Regions from separate parts of the Homo sapiens genome. Here region 2 is linked to region 1. Evidence: promoter capture Hi-C in 16 types of primary human blood cells and fetal thymus (Javierre and others, 2016). All regions are on one chromosome and are shown on one strand. The core of a region is centred on a gene start or on the middle of the fragment in contact, and the rest is flanking DNA. Distances in the headings are between cores, read along the strand shown. Region 1 holds the start of KCTD2 (potassium channel tetramerization domain containing 2). Region 2 holds the start of LOC107985034 (a long non-coding RNA gene).

The links. The method cuts DNA at HindIII sites, captures the fragments that hold promoters and counts their contacts. A CHiCAGO score of 5 or more calls a contact.
Region 2: a contact is called between a fragment that was not itself captured here and the fragment with the promoter of KCTD2 in region 1, in 11 of 17 cell types (erythroblasts, endothelial precursors, M1 macrophages and 8 more). The highest score is 10.0, in erythroblasts.

Annotation. Positions count from the first base shown.
Region 1 is chr17:75,044,476-75,050,948 of GRCh38, reverse strand. KCTD2 (potassium channel tetramerization domain containing 2) reads right to left here and starts at 3,724. Exons shown (of 6, transcript NM_015353.3): 1 at 3,360-3,724; 2 at 1,621-1,729. The coding sequence starts at 3,698. ATP5PD (ATP synthase peripheral stalk subunit d) reads left to right here and starts at 3,980. Exons shown (of 6, transcript NM_006356.3): 1 at 3,980-4,024. RefSeq lists enhancers at 3,741-4,035, 3,920-4,505, 4,444-4,513 and a silencer at 3,614-4,043. The HindIII fragment of the contact is 5,200 bases long and covers 951-6,150 here.
Region 2 is chr17:75,134,616-75,141,039 of GRCh38, reverse strand. JPT1 (Jupiter microtubule associated homolog 1) reads left to right here. Exons shown (of 5, transcript NM_016185.4): 5 at 4,790-5,792. The coding sequence ends at 4,938. LOC107985034 (a long non-coding RNA gene) reads right to left here and starts at 4,790. Exons shown (of 2, transcript XR_007065907.1): 1 at 164-4,790. The HindIII fragment of the contact is 1,866 bases long and covers 2,079-3,944 here.

The sequences.
Region 1 (6,473 bases), core at 2,475-4,974:
CGCAGCTACTCAGGAGGCTGAGGCAGGAGGAGCATGTGAGGCCAGACATTTGAGACCAGCCTGGGCAAGATAAGATAGACTCTGACTCTTAAAAAAACAACAAAAAGATCTCCCCATACCCCAAATATGACAAAAATAACATTGAAAATTGGTTAATCTGGGATATAGGGAGTTCTCTGTGTTATTCTTGCTCTTTTCTTGCTTATTTTGAAGTTTTAAATTACTTCAAAATAAAGTTTTTTTAATTAAAGGCATTAGAAAAGATACTTAACTAAAAGAGGGTAATTGAATTTTTGTATCACAAAGGATAAATGCTTGAGGGGATGGATACCCCATTCTCCATGATGTGCTTATTTCACACTGCATGCCTATATCCAAACATCTCAGGTCGGGCGCGGAGGCTCAGGCCTGTAATCCCAGCACTCTGGGAGGCTGAGGCAGGTGGATCACTTGAGGTTAGGAGTTCAAGACCAGCCTGGTCAACATGGTGAAACCCTGTCTCTACTAAAAATACAAAAAATTAGTCAAGCATGGTGGTGCACGCCTGTAATCCCAGCTACTTGGGAGGCTGAGGCAGGAGAATCGCTTGAACCCAGGAGGCTGAGGTTGCAGTGAGTCAAGATTGTGCCAGTGCACTCCAGCCTGAGCGAAGAAAAAAAAAAGAAAAATCTCATGTACCCCATAAATATATACACCTACTAGGTACTTACAAAAATTAAAAAAGAAAAATAAATAAGATTAAGATCACCCATGAGTTGGTAATTGTTGAAGCTGGATAGTGGATGCAAGGAATTCACTGTATGTACTATTCCCATTACTTCTGTATGCGTTTGAAATATTGTTTAAAAAGGGACATTTAAAAAAAGAGAGAGAGAGCAATTCCTCTTTCTACTAGCTGAAACAGAGTTGTTTCACAGTCACTTCATTAACTAGTACAGCCATTACAAGCTTTCTTACTCAGAGCCAAAGCTCCCAGATCAGGGTGCCCTGGATTTAGGGACAGTCCCCTTTACAACTGAATGCCTTCAGTGGGACCATGCCAAGCCTTGTAGAAAGTGGACTAGACCCACTTATAGTCCCAATGCCCTACAAACCACAAAGATGAGGCAAGTAATGATACACCTGACAATGAACTAGAGAATGAATTAGGTCAGCTGCAAACATTTACAGGGAAGCATGAGGCCAGAGTCTTAAAAGAAATGAGGCCAAGCCTTTATTATTTTTGTACAACTGTGAGTTCAAACCAAAATTAAAACTATAAATAATTGAATGTCAGAGATGTCTTGCTTCTTCAGACTACAGACACTCACTGCTAGCACACAAACAAATGTAAAAAAAGGATCGTGACAATTCTGGAGATTCGGAAAGAACTCCTGAAGTTATCTGCAAAGCGGAGCTACCTATCTTCCTTCTCACCCAGGAAGCTGAACAAAGCCTAAGGAGGCTTCCTTAATCATGACTCCCTCAGACAAGACTGGTAGTTTCTGCTCTGTTTCATAAACCTGAAACTATACCTGCACATGCGCCTGATGAAAATGTCAAACAAAATTGAAATCTGTAAAACAACTTTAAAGATTCTACTTGCATTTTGAAAATCCCCAATGCAAACAGTGCGCTTACCTTCTTCTGCCAACTCCTTAGTGATGATGAGTTTCCCGTGGCGGAGGTAGTTGAGGATAGGACCAAAGTAGGTGGGGTCCCTGTCAATCAGATAGGCTCCTGTCTCATCCTGCCAACCAAACACAAGGGTATCATTGTGGACCTTTGAGGAGTATTTTAAACAAAGGCAGGGCAGGATTTCACCATCTTTGTCAGCGCCCCAAGACAACAATTCATTCCATCAGCTAAAAAAGACTTTAGTGATGGCAAATTTTGTTACACATTTGTCACAAACTATTGGTAAGAAAGCTATAGCTTTATGTATCTTGTACATTAAGATCATCTTAGGTAGGGTGTTACAGACAGTCATACTCATTTAGGCGTTTACTTACTGGCTGGAATTTGCAATCTTTGCCTGGACAATAATTACAGTGACAAACATTCTTCTGTAGCGTGTTTGTTATTAAGAAAGGGAGAAAATGCCGTAGCTGTGTAACTGAAATCTTTGCTTGAGATGGACATTCTGACTTTTCCACTGCCTCTGAACTGCATTCCTAATTCCAAGAAAACCTCTGTGTAGTTGGCAATGCTCCTGAGCTCAAGGCCAACATCAGTGGGAGTTTGCACTGCCAGCTGTAATCTCACACACCCCAGCTCTGTGCCCAGAGGAAGCTCGGTACTGCCAGGACTTGGCTCTGAGCAGCTTTAATCCTACTCATCTTTACAGTAAAAGGAACAAGAAGAAACTGGCTTCTATTACCACAAGGAGGATATAGAGTAGATAAAAATAATTCCTTTATAAGCAAGGGTTTTGAAATCTCTTTAAAGTTAGGGCAGGATAGGTTTCCATCAATCTGAGATTTCTTAGAGAAGAGGAATAAACGAAAACAACAAATGTTTACGCAACTCCAGCTCTGTTTTGAGGTCACCAGCTGAGTGCTATATGGGATATAAGATGGTGTGAGTTATGGTCAGTGCCTTTAAGTTGAGAACTTAAAGGTGAATACGTAAAGTTAAAAAGAAATTGACACAGTTCAAACTGGAAATGGTTTAAGTGTCTTGTCACCTCTCAACCCTTTGGTTAGCAGCCATGCATCCTGCCCAAAATTTTCCCGGGAAAATTTTCATTTTCCTTCTGTCTTAGCCTAGATTTGCAGCGGCAAACAGTAACCTCTTTCCAAAAAACGCATTTGATCTAAATATGGACCTAAACCAGTGACTGTTAACAGATAAAAGTTCTGCGACCAGGACTATAGAAAAGCAGTGTGATATCACAAGGAGCGCTTCCTGCAGCTGTGGAAGCCCAACTTGGCAGAGGGGTCCGAGAGGGAGTCTGAGAAAGCTACAAGGATGCCTGAGCTAACCCTGACCCAGTTCTGGATGCATCTGGCACCGGCAGTGGGGGGACTGAAGAGGAGCCAGGGAAAACTCATGCAGATCTCAGTGGGATGTCAGGGGCAGAGAATATGGAGAAGGGGTGTGGAGTGCGTTCTCGTGGGTGCAGGTGGGCGCAGTGTGGGAAGGAGTCTCAGAGAACGAAGGGCGGGGTCGGGGAGAAAGCCAGAGTATGCCTCAGCATGGAAGAAGGGGAGTGGGAGGTCCCTCTGAGGCCCCTGCGAGTAGTGTGGGAGGGAGGGGGAGGATGGGGTCCCGGCCTGAGGGGGCTGCCTGTGAGGAGCGTGTCTCAGGACTCTGGGGACCGATCTACGAGAAACCAGGGGGTTCGAAGGCCCGGGGGCGCGCCCGAGGGCGGGGCACACCTTGTCTGAGTCCAGCTCCGGGTCCTCCTGGCAGCAGAGGCGGCAGAGAAATGACTTGGGCTCCCGGCCTAAGGTCTGTCTGGTGGTCACGAAGTAGGTGCCTCCCACGTTCAGCCTGACCCAGCGGGCCGCGCCGCCGCCCCCTGCCCGCTCGGGTGGTCCGGGACCCGGCTCCAGCGGCTGCGCGACGGCGGCAGCCGGGCGGCCGTGCCCGCGGGGCGTGGGGCCAGCCGGGCGTGGGCTGGGGGGCCCGCGGACTGGGCCACCCCCGTCGCCCACCCCACTCCCGCCGCCCCCTCCCAGCCCCGCCATCGCCGGGTCCAGCTGCAGTTCCGCCATCTTGGACCGCCGCCGCCACCGCTGCTGCCCGCGCGCAGCCGGGCCGGCCCATTTCTCGGCAGGGAGAGCCGGGCCGGCCCATCGGCGGGGGTGGGGCAGAGGGGAGAGGGACGGGAGCGCCCCCAACCAGCGCCCGGGGACCCGCGCGGGGGAGGCGCTGTGCCCGCCCCCGGGAAGATACTTCCGGAACCAGCCCTCATCTCTATTGGCTGATCTGCGAAGCAAGGCCCACCCCCTTGGCTTTGGGGTTGGCTGAGGAAAGATCTTCCCGTGACCCACTTCCGTTACTTGCTGCGGAGGACCGTGGGCAGCCAGGGTCGGTGAAGGTGAGTGGGGCTTGGGGCATTGGATCCGATCCCTGGAGGGCTCCTCTGCTCTGCCCTCTCCAAACCTCACGCCGACCCTTGTCACGCCCCCGTCAAGGACGCTGGGCCCTCGGCTTGCCCCGCTGGCAGAGTGTCCCTTGTGTAGCTGCCGCTCCTCGCCCCGCGATCCCTTCCTCAGCCCTCCTTGGCGCGCGGGGTCAGGGGGGCCCGGCTGTGTCCCAGGCGCCGCTGATGTAGGCGCTGCCACAAGCCGTGTCTCGTGCAGTCCGCTCCCAGCGCGGCAGACTTCAATAGTTTGGTGGGGGGACTGGGGAAACATTACGCAGACAGTGTTAACCTGCCGAGGGACGCTCAGCTGGCTGCGGGGCTGCGCCCTTCCCCTTCGGCAGCTTCCAGGATTCGAACGTATAGAGCGTTCAGGGCTCCTCGGGTGCAGAGTTCGGTTACTCATTCAAGAAAGATTCATTGAGCACCTCCTATGCGCATGATCTGTTCTAGGCGCTGGGGATTAAGCAATAGATTTTTAAGAATTAAAAAAAATTTCGCCGGGCGCGGTGGCTCACGCCTGTAATCCCAGAATTTTAGGAGGCCAAGGCGGGCGAATCGCGAGGTCAGGAGTTCGAGACCAGCCTGGCCAACGTAGTGAAACCCCGCCTCTACTAAAAATACAAAAAATTAGCTGGGCGTGGTGGAAGGCCCCTATAATCCCAGCTGCTCGGGAGGCTGAGGCAGGAGAATCGCTTGAACCCGGGAGGCGGAGGTTGCAGTGAGCCGAGACCACGCCACTACACTCCAGCCCAGGCGACAGTGCGAGACTCCGTCTCACTCACACACACACACAAAGTTATTTGTGACTTCCATTTTCCACTGATGTTGCGGGAAATCAGGGACCCCAAACAGAGAGACCGGCTGAAACCATGGCAGAAGAACGTGGATTGTGAAGATTTTATGGACATTTATTAGTTCCCCAAATTAATACTTTTGTAATTTCTTATGCCTGTCTTTACTGCAATCTCTAAACATAAATTGTAGAGATTTCATGGACACTTATCACTTCCCCAGTCAATACTCTTCTGATTTCCTATGCCTGTCTTGTCTTTAATCTCTTAATCCTGTCAGTTGAGGATGTATATCGTTCCAGGACCCTGTAATAATTGTGTTAACTACAAAAATTGTACAGCATGTGTGTTTGAGCAATATGAAATGTGGGCACCCTGAAAAAAGAACAGGATAACAGCAATTGTTCAGGGAACAAGAGAGAACCTTAAACTCTGACCGCCGGTGAGCCGGGCAGAACAGAGCCATATTTCTCTTCCTTCAAAAGCAAATGGGAGAAATATCGCTGAATTCTTTTTCTCAGCATGGGATATCCCTGAGAAAGAGAATGCGCACCTAGGGGTAGGTCTCTGAACTGGCCCCCCTGGGGCGTACCTGTCTCTTATGGTTGAGACTGCAGGGGTGAAATAAACTCCAGTCTCCCATAGCGATCCCAGGCTTATTAGGAAAAGGAAATTCCCACCTAATAAATTTTGGTCAGACCGGTTGATCTGAAAACCCTGTCTCCTGATAAGATGTTATCAATGACAATGGTGCCCAAAACTTCATTAGCAATTTTAATTTCGCTCTGGTCCTGTGGTCTTGTGATCTCACCCTGCCTCCACTTGCCTTGTGATATTCTATTACCCTGTTAAGTACTTGATGTCTGTCACCCACACCTATTCGTATACTCCCTCCCCTTTTGAAACTCCCTAATAAAAACTTGCTGGTTTTTGTGGCTTGTGGGGCATCACGGATCCTACCAACGTGTGATGTCTCCCCCGGACGCCCAGCTTTAAAATTTCTCTCTTTTGTACTCTGTCAAGCCAGTCGACGCTTAGGAAAATAGAAAAGAACCTATGTGACTATCGGGGCAAGTTCCCCGATACACTGATGTTTGGGAAAGTCTGTAAGGGTGCTTGGTTCCCTGGTAACTTTAAAATCACATGCCAATTGCCTTAACACCTCCCCTCCACAACAGGAAACAGGCTGTCCTGAGAAAGAAAGGAAGGACAGGACAGGTGTTTGACAACTTTCTTGAAGATCCTGAGAAAGACTGCTTCCGCCTCCCTTGCATTCCACTCCAAGCTTATAGAGATTTTTGACTTTGCAGTCTTTTAATATCTGACCCTGATCTTACTTAAAGAGGACTATTTTCCTATATTCTGACTTTTTTTTTAAGTGGCTGTAGTCGTTTTCTGTATTTTTCTCACATTTTCACATGTGTTGAATACCTCTTAAAATGCAGGCCGGGCGCGGTGGCTCATGCCTGTAATTCCAGCACTTTGCAAGGCTGAGGTGGGTGGATCACCTGAGGTCTGGAGTTTCAGCCCATCCTGGCCAACGTGGAGAAACCCTGTCTCTACTAAAAATACAAAAATTAGGGCCGGGCGCGGTGGCTCACGCCTATAAT
Region 2 (6,424 bases), core at 1,762-4,261, 91 kb before region 1:
TGGCTCACTGCAGCCTCCACCTCTTTGATTCAAGCAATTCTCCTGCCTCAGCCTCCCGAGTAGCTGGGATTACAGGTGCCCGCCACTGTGTCCAGCTAATTTTTGTGTTTTCAGTAGAGACAGGATTTCACCATCTTGCCCAGGCCGGTCTCGAACTCCTTACCTCGTGATCCACCTGCCTTGGCCTCCCAAAGTGTCGGGATTACAGGCGTGAGCCACCGTGCTTGGCCAATTTTTGTAGTTTCTGTAGAGACAGGGTTTTGCTATGTTTCCCCCGGCTGGTCCTGGGTTCATGTTGATCTTCCTGCCTTGGCCTCCCAAAATTCTGGGATTACAGGTGTGAGCCGCTGTGCCTGGCTGAGGTACAGTAATAAGATACATCTGGAGGATTAAAGGTCAACCCCAATTCAGTTTAAATAAGATAGATTCCCTTTGGATATACGGGAAATTTATTTTACCTCTTGGGCAATTAAACGCAGGAATGGCTACAGGAATGACTTTGGAGTTTCCATCTTGAGAAATCTAAGAGGGAGAAGGTCCAGGAAGTTCAGGCAGAGAAGTCTCCCTGACTGCGGGCAAGTTAGATGGTCGGCTACATTTCTTCCAGTTCTGATTCTTTGATGCTTACAATGAATCATTTTCTATTCAGATAGAGATGTCTTTGTTCAGTTATCTTATTGATGTGCCAAAGAAAAGAGACCAGGAGTGTCTAAAATGTATATTTTGGTAGAAATAATTTCATTTAAAGCCCTTTTTTTTTTTAAATTATCTTCAGCAGACAAAAGCTTTCTGTGTCAAATTGGCATAAAAGTTTCTAAACATTTGGCTGGGCGCGGTGGCTCATGCCTGTAATCCCAGCCCTTCGGGAGGCTGAGGTGTGCGGATCATGAGGTCAAGAGATCAAGACCATCCTGGCCAACATGGTGAAAGCCCGTCTCTACTAAAAATACAAAAATTAGCCAGGCGTGGTGGCACGCGCCTGTAATCCCAGCTACTTGGGAGGCTGAGGCAGGAGAATCGCTTGAACCTGGGAGGTGGAGATAGATTGCGCCACTGCACTCCAGCCTGGCAAGAGAGAGAGACTCCATCTGAAAAAATAAATCAAAGTTTCTGAACACTTACTCTCAATTCCTGTACTTATCTCATTATGGGCTGGAAACAAACAAACCTCCCTCCTCTGTGGGTGGAGTACTTCTGACTGGACAGACATTTATTTATTTTTGAGACGGAGTCTTACTCTGTCGCCCAGGCTGGAGTGCTGTGGCACGATCTTGGCTCACTTCAAACTCCGCCTCCCGGGTTCAAGTGATTCTCTTGCCTCAGCCTCCCGAGTATCTGTGAATACAGGCGCGCACACACGCCCAGCTAATTTTTGTACTTTTGTAGACACGGGGTTTCACCATGTTGGCCAAGCTGGTCTCAAACTCCTGACCTCAGGTTATTCAGCTGCCTTGGCCTCCCAAAGTGCTGGGATTACAGGTGTGAGCCACTGCACCTGGCCTGGACAGACATTTAAAGTAAGGCCTACTGCTGCTTGTTTAGTCTCCATAGGTGCTTTTTTATTTTTTTCTTCTTCTTTATTAGTATGTTATGTATTTGTGAAAAACAAAACAGTTCTAGTAATAATGTAAGACAAATATAAGATTAGTAGTATTGAGCTTGATTCATCTGAAGAGGATTTTATGAAAATAAACCACTATGGCAGGACTGCAAGATAATTTTTTGTTCTTCAGAATGTTCATTAACTGCTGGATTCAGAGAGAGAATGAAGACTTCAGTAGATCCTGTATGTATAGCAGGAGGCCATGTCCCACCAGCAGAAATGAAACTGCTTGAACTAACAAGTTGTCTCAGTCCGAATTCTCTTTATCTTGAATATTTTAAATGTGGAGTTTTGTTTTTCTTTTATATTTACAATTATATTTAGGTTATTTCAGGGACACTTATTGTAGGACTTGTGTGTCTGATCCAGTGCATTTGATCTTGCTTCTTTTACAATGGATGTAACCAAGGAAACTAATGGGTGACCCTCTCTGAGTTTTAGTTCATAATTGTGACAGTTGTCATTCTGAAAAGCTTCATACTCTATTTTTGCTTGTAGTTAAATAGTATAGAACATTTTATGTTACTCCCATAGAATGTTCCAGAAATTCATGAAATGTTAAAAGCAGCAGTAGTATGTTAACATTAACAAAGCATGAAAAATAAATAAATAAAATAAATGTCTGTCCAATGAGAAATACTGCAGCCACAGAAGAGGGAGGTTTGTTTGCTTCTAGCCTATCATGAGATAAGTACATGAATTGAGAGTAAGTGTTAAAGACCTCTTCTTGGCCGGGCATGGTGGCTCACGCCTGTAATCTGAGTACTTTGGGCAGCTGAGGTGGGTGGATCACTTGCGGTCAGGAGGTTGAGACAAGCCTGGCCAACATGGTGAAACCTGGTCTCTACAAAAATACAAAAAATTAGCTGGGCATGGTGGCGGGCGCCTATAACCCCAGCTATTGGGAGGCTGAGGCAGGAGAATCGCTTGAGCCTGGGAGGCGGAGGTTGTGGTGGGCCAGGATCACGCTACTTTACTCCAGTCTGGGCGATGGAATGAGACACAGTCTCAAAAAAAAAAAAAAAATCCATTAATATAGGAGCATTATTAACTGCCCTTACTGCCTTTTCAGGCAAAAGGGATTCTATGAAATATTTTTACGAATATCTTAGAATATGCAACTGAATTTGATTGGTTAACACTGAAATAAACTTGCTATTAAAAAGAAAACTAAGGCCCAGTATGGAGGCTCACGCCTGTAATCCCAGCACCTTGGGAGGCCAAGGCAGGTTGGATCACCTGAGGTCAGGAGTTTAAGACCAGCCAGGCCAACATGGTGAAACCCTGTCTCTACTAAAAATACAAAAAATTAGTCGGGCGTTGTAGCGGGCACCTATAATCCCAGCTACTTACTTGGGATGCTGAGGCAGGAGAATTGCTTGAACCCGGGAGGCACAGGTTGCAGTGAGCCGAAATTGCACTGTTGCACTCTAGCCTGGACAACATGTGTGAAACTCCATCTCAACTAAAGAAAAAAAAGGAAAACTAGGCCGGGTGCAGTGGCTTAATGCCTGTAATCCCAGCACTTTGGGAGGCCAAGGTAGGTGGCTCACTTGAGGCCAGGAGTTTGAGACCAGCCTGGCCAACATGGCGAAACCCCGTCTCTACTAAAAATACAAAAATTAATCAGGCATGGTGGTGCATGCCTGTAATTCCAGCTACTCGGGAGGCTGAGGCAGGAGAATTGCTTGAACCCAGGAGGCAGAGGTTAAAGACCCTGTCTCAAAAAAAAAAAAAAAAAAAAAAAAAAAGGAAAACTAGGCTGTGTGAAGGGTGAAGGTGGCTCATGCCTGTGATCCCAGCACTTAGGGAGGGTGAGATGGGAGGATCACTTGAGTCCAGGAATTTGAGACCAGCCTGGGTAACATAAGGAGACCCCATCTTTTAAAAATAAAAAAAAAAAAAAAACAAAAATAGCCAGTTGTGGTGGTGCGCGCCTGTAGTCCCAGCTATTTGGGAGACTGATATAGGAGGATTGCTTGAGCCCAGGAGTTTGAGGCTACAGTGGGCTGTGATTGAGGTACTGCACTCCAGCCTGGGCCACAGAGTGAGACCCTGTCTCAATATCCTCCACCTGCCACCCCACCCCTCCACAAAAAACAAACAAACAAAAAAACTAAAAATATGTATACTATTAAGCTCTTAGTAAAAGTTTCCTTTCATAGAAAATATAGAATTTTTGCATTCACTTTGCACTTTGAATCAGTTTTTTCCCGGTTTAGAAACAACCCTAATGAGAGACAATTCATTTGGAAAATTGGATGGGTTCCAGTTTTTTTGCTGTCAGAGAATTGGATAAATAGCCTATATCATGTGATAATTACTATAAAGCAATGAAGCTTGACAGTGAGGTGAGGGATTTGAAAACATACAGTTAATAAGCAAGGCGAATTACTACCCTGTTTGTAAATATGGATACATTTCCAAGAGTGAAAAAAAGAAGTTGATACCATTTATGTTAAATATAACCAAAACATGTTACATGTTATCTGGCTACATGTAAATATACATAAAACAAGTGGACTAGAAGGCTGCACAGGACTTGCAGTGGGACCTCTGGGAATAGGGGGAGCAGGATCCACCCGGAGCTGGAAGGGGCCGTAGAGCTAGAGTTCCCTGTTCTTATTTAAAAATCTTCATGTCCTTGGGCCAGGCGCGGTGGCTCACGCCTGTAATCCCAGCACTTTGGGAGGCCGAGGCAGGTGGATCACAAGGTCATGAATTCAAGACCAGCTTGGCCAGGATGGTGAAACCCCATCTGTACTAAAAATACAAGAATTAGCCGGGCATGGCGGCAGGCGCCTGTAATCCCAGCTACTAGAGAGGCTGAGGCAGGAGAATTGCTTGAACCTGGGAAGTGGAGGTTGCAGTGAGCCAAGACTGCACCATTGCACTCCAGCCTGGGCAACAGCGAGACTCCGTCAAAAAACAAAACAAAACAAAAAAAAACTTCATGTCCTTATATATTTGTGTAATTTAGAAAAGAACATAAACAACAAATATGGGAAAAGATGAACAATGGTTAATTCTGTGGAGTGGGAGCATGGTGGGTGATTATTTTGTTTATGCTTTTAGGTATGTTTCCAACCATCAAACCAAAAAAAAAAGAAAAAGAGAAACAGATCCTTGATCTTAACAGGAAATGGCTGTCATTATGAGTATTATTTCTATTCCCTGTTTTCATAGAAAATGTGGACACAGACTTGCCAGGCAGCCTGGGGCAGAGTGAAGAGAAGCCCGTGCCTGCTGCGCCTGTGCCCAGCCCGGTGGCCCCGGCCCCAGTGCCATCCAGAAGAAATCCCCCTGGCGGCAAGTCCAGCCTCGTCTTGGGTTAGCTCTGACTGTCCTGAACGCTGTCGTTCTGTCTGTTTCCTCCATGCTTGTGAACTGCACAACTTGAGCCTGACTGTACATCTCTTGGATTTGTTTCATTAAAAAGAAGCACTTTATGTACTGCTGTCTTTTTTTTTTTTCTTTTGAAGAACAGGTTTCTCTCTGTCCTTGACTCTTGGGTCTGTGGGCCATGGCATGAGTGTTTTCTAGTAGTAGATTGGAGGGAAAGCTTTGTGACACTTAGTACTGTGTTTTTAAGAAGAAATAATTTGGTTCCAGATGTGTTAGAGGATCTTTTGTACTGAGGTTTTTAACACTTTACTTGGGTTTACCAAGCCTCAACTGGACAGACCATAAACAGTCCACAGGCACCGTTCCTGCCAGGCCCCAACCCACAGGGAGTCTCTCCGCAGAGCCTTCTTGGTGTTGCCCTAACTTGCCAGTGGCCTTTGCTCAGAGCCTCCTCCTGTGACATGTGAACAATGAAGAGGCCTGCGCCTCCTGCCTTGCCGCCTGCAAAGCAAAGAAACTGCCTTTTATTTTTTAACCTTAAAAAGTAGCCAGATAGTAACAAGACTGGCTGGCTGATGAGCAAAGCCTTTGCTCTCACGCAGAGGAAGGCTTGGATGTACAATGAAACTGCCTGGAACTAAAAGCAGTGAAGCAAGGGAGGCAATCACACTGAAGCGGGTCTTCCTCCAGGAACGGGGTCCCACAGGCGTGTTGTTTTAAATAACCTGATGCTGTGTGCATGATGCTGGTGCTTGACCATGAAAGGAAAGTCTCATCCTTAAAATGTGTTGTACTTCACAATCCTGGACTGTTGCTTCAAGTAAACAATATCCACATTTTGAAACACTGTGTACTGTGTCTTCTTTTTGAGATGGTTTCAGTGTTCTCCCTGGTTAGATGCTTTTCTCTTTGTCACTATAAATCCTGCCTACTGATTGGAGGAGTCATTTGAAGTTAAATAGCCAGATGTGCCTGTAATTAGCTACTTGGGAAGCCAAGGCAAGAGGATGCTTGAGCCCAGGAGTTTGAGACTATCCTGGGCAACATAGCGAGACCTCCTTAAAAAACAAAATCTTAAAACAGATGAAGACCCAGAGAGGAGTGGGTTTCTTTCTGAAGAAGGCTCTAAAGATGAGCAGGTTAGACTCTTCTACCTCCCCTTTGTTCTGGGCAGTAACATTTTAAAGTGTTCTCCAAGACTGGGCAACATGGTGAAACCTCGTCTCTACCAAAAATAGCCAGGTGTGATGGCACACGCCTGTAGTCGGGAGGCTGAGGCAGGAGGATTGCTTCACCCTGTGAGATCAAGGCTGCAGTGAGCCATGATCGCACCACTGTACTCCAGCCTGGGTGACAGCAAGACCCTGTCTCAAAAAAAGTTCTCCAACTTTAAATATGCGGGGATTTCTCCCCACCAGCAAGCAAGCAAGCAAGCAATTCTGCAGTGGATACCAGCTAGGTGTCCTCCAATTTTTT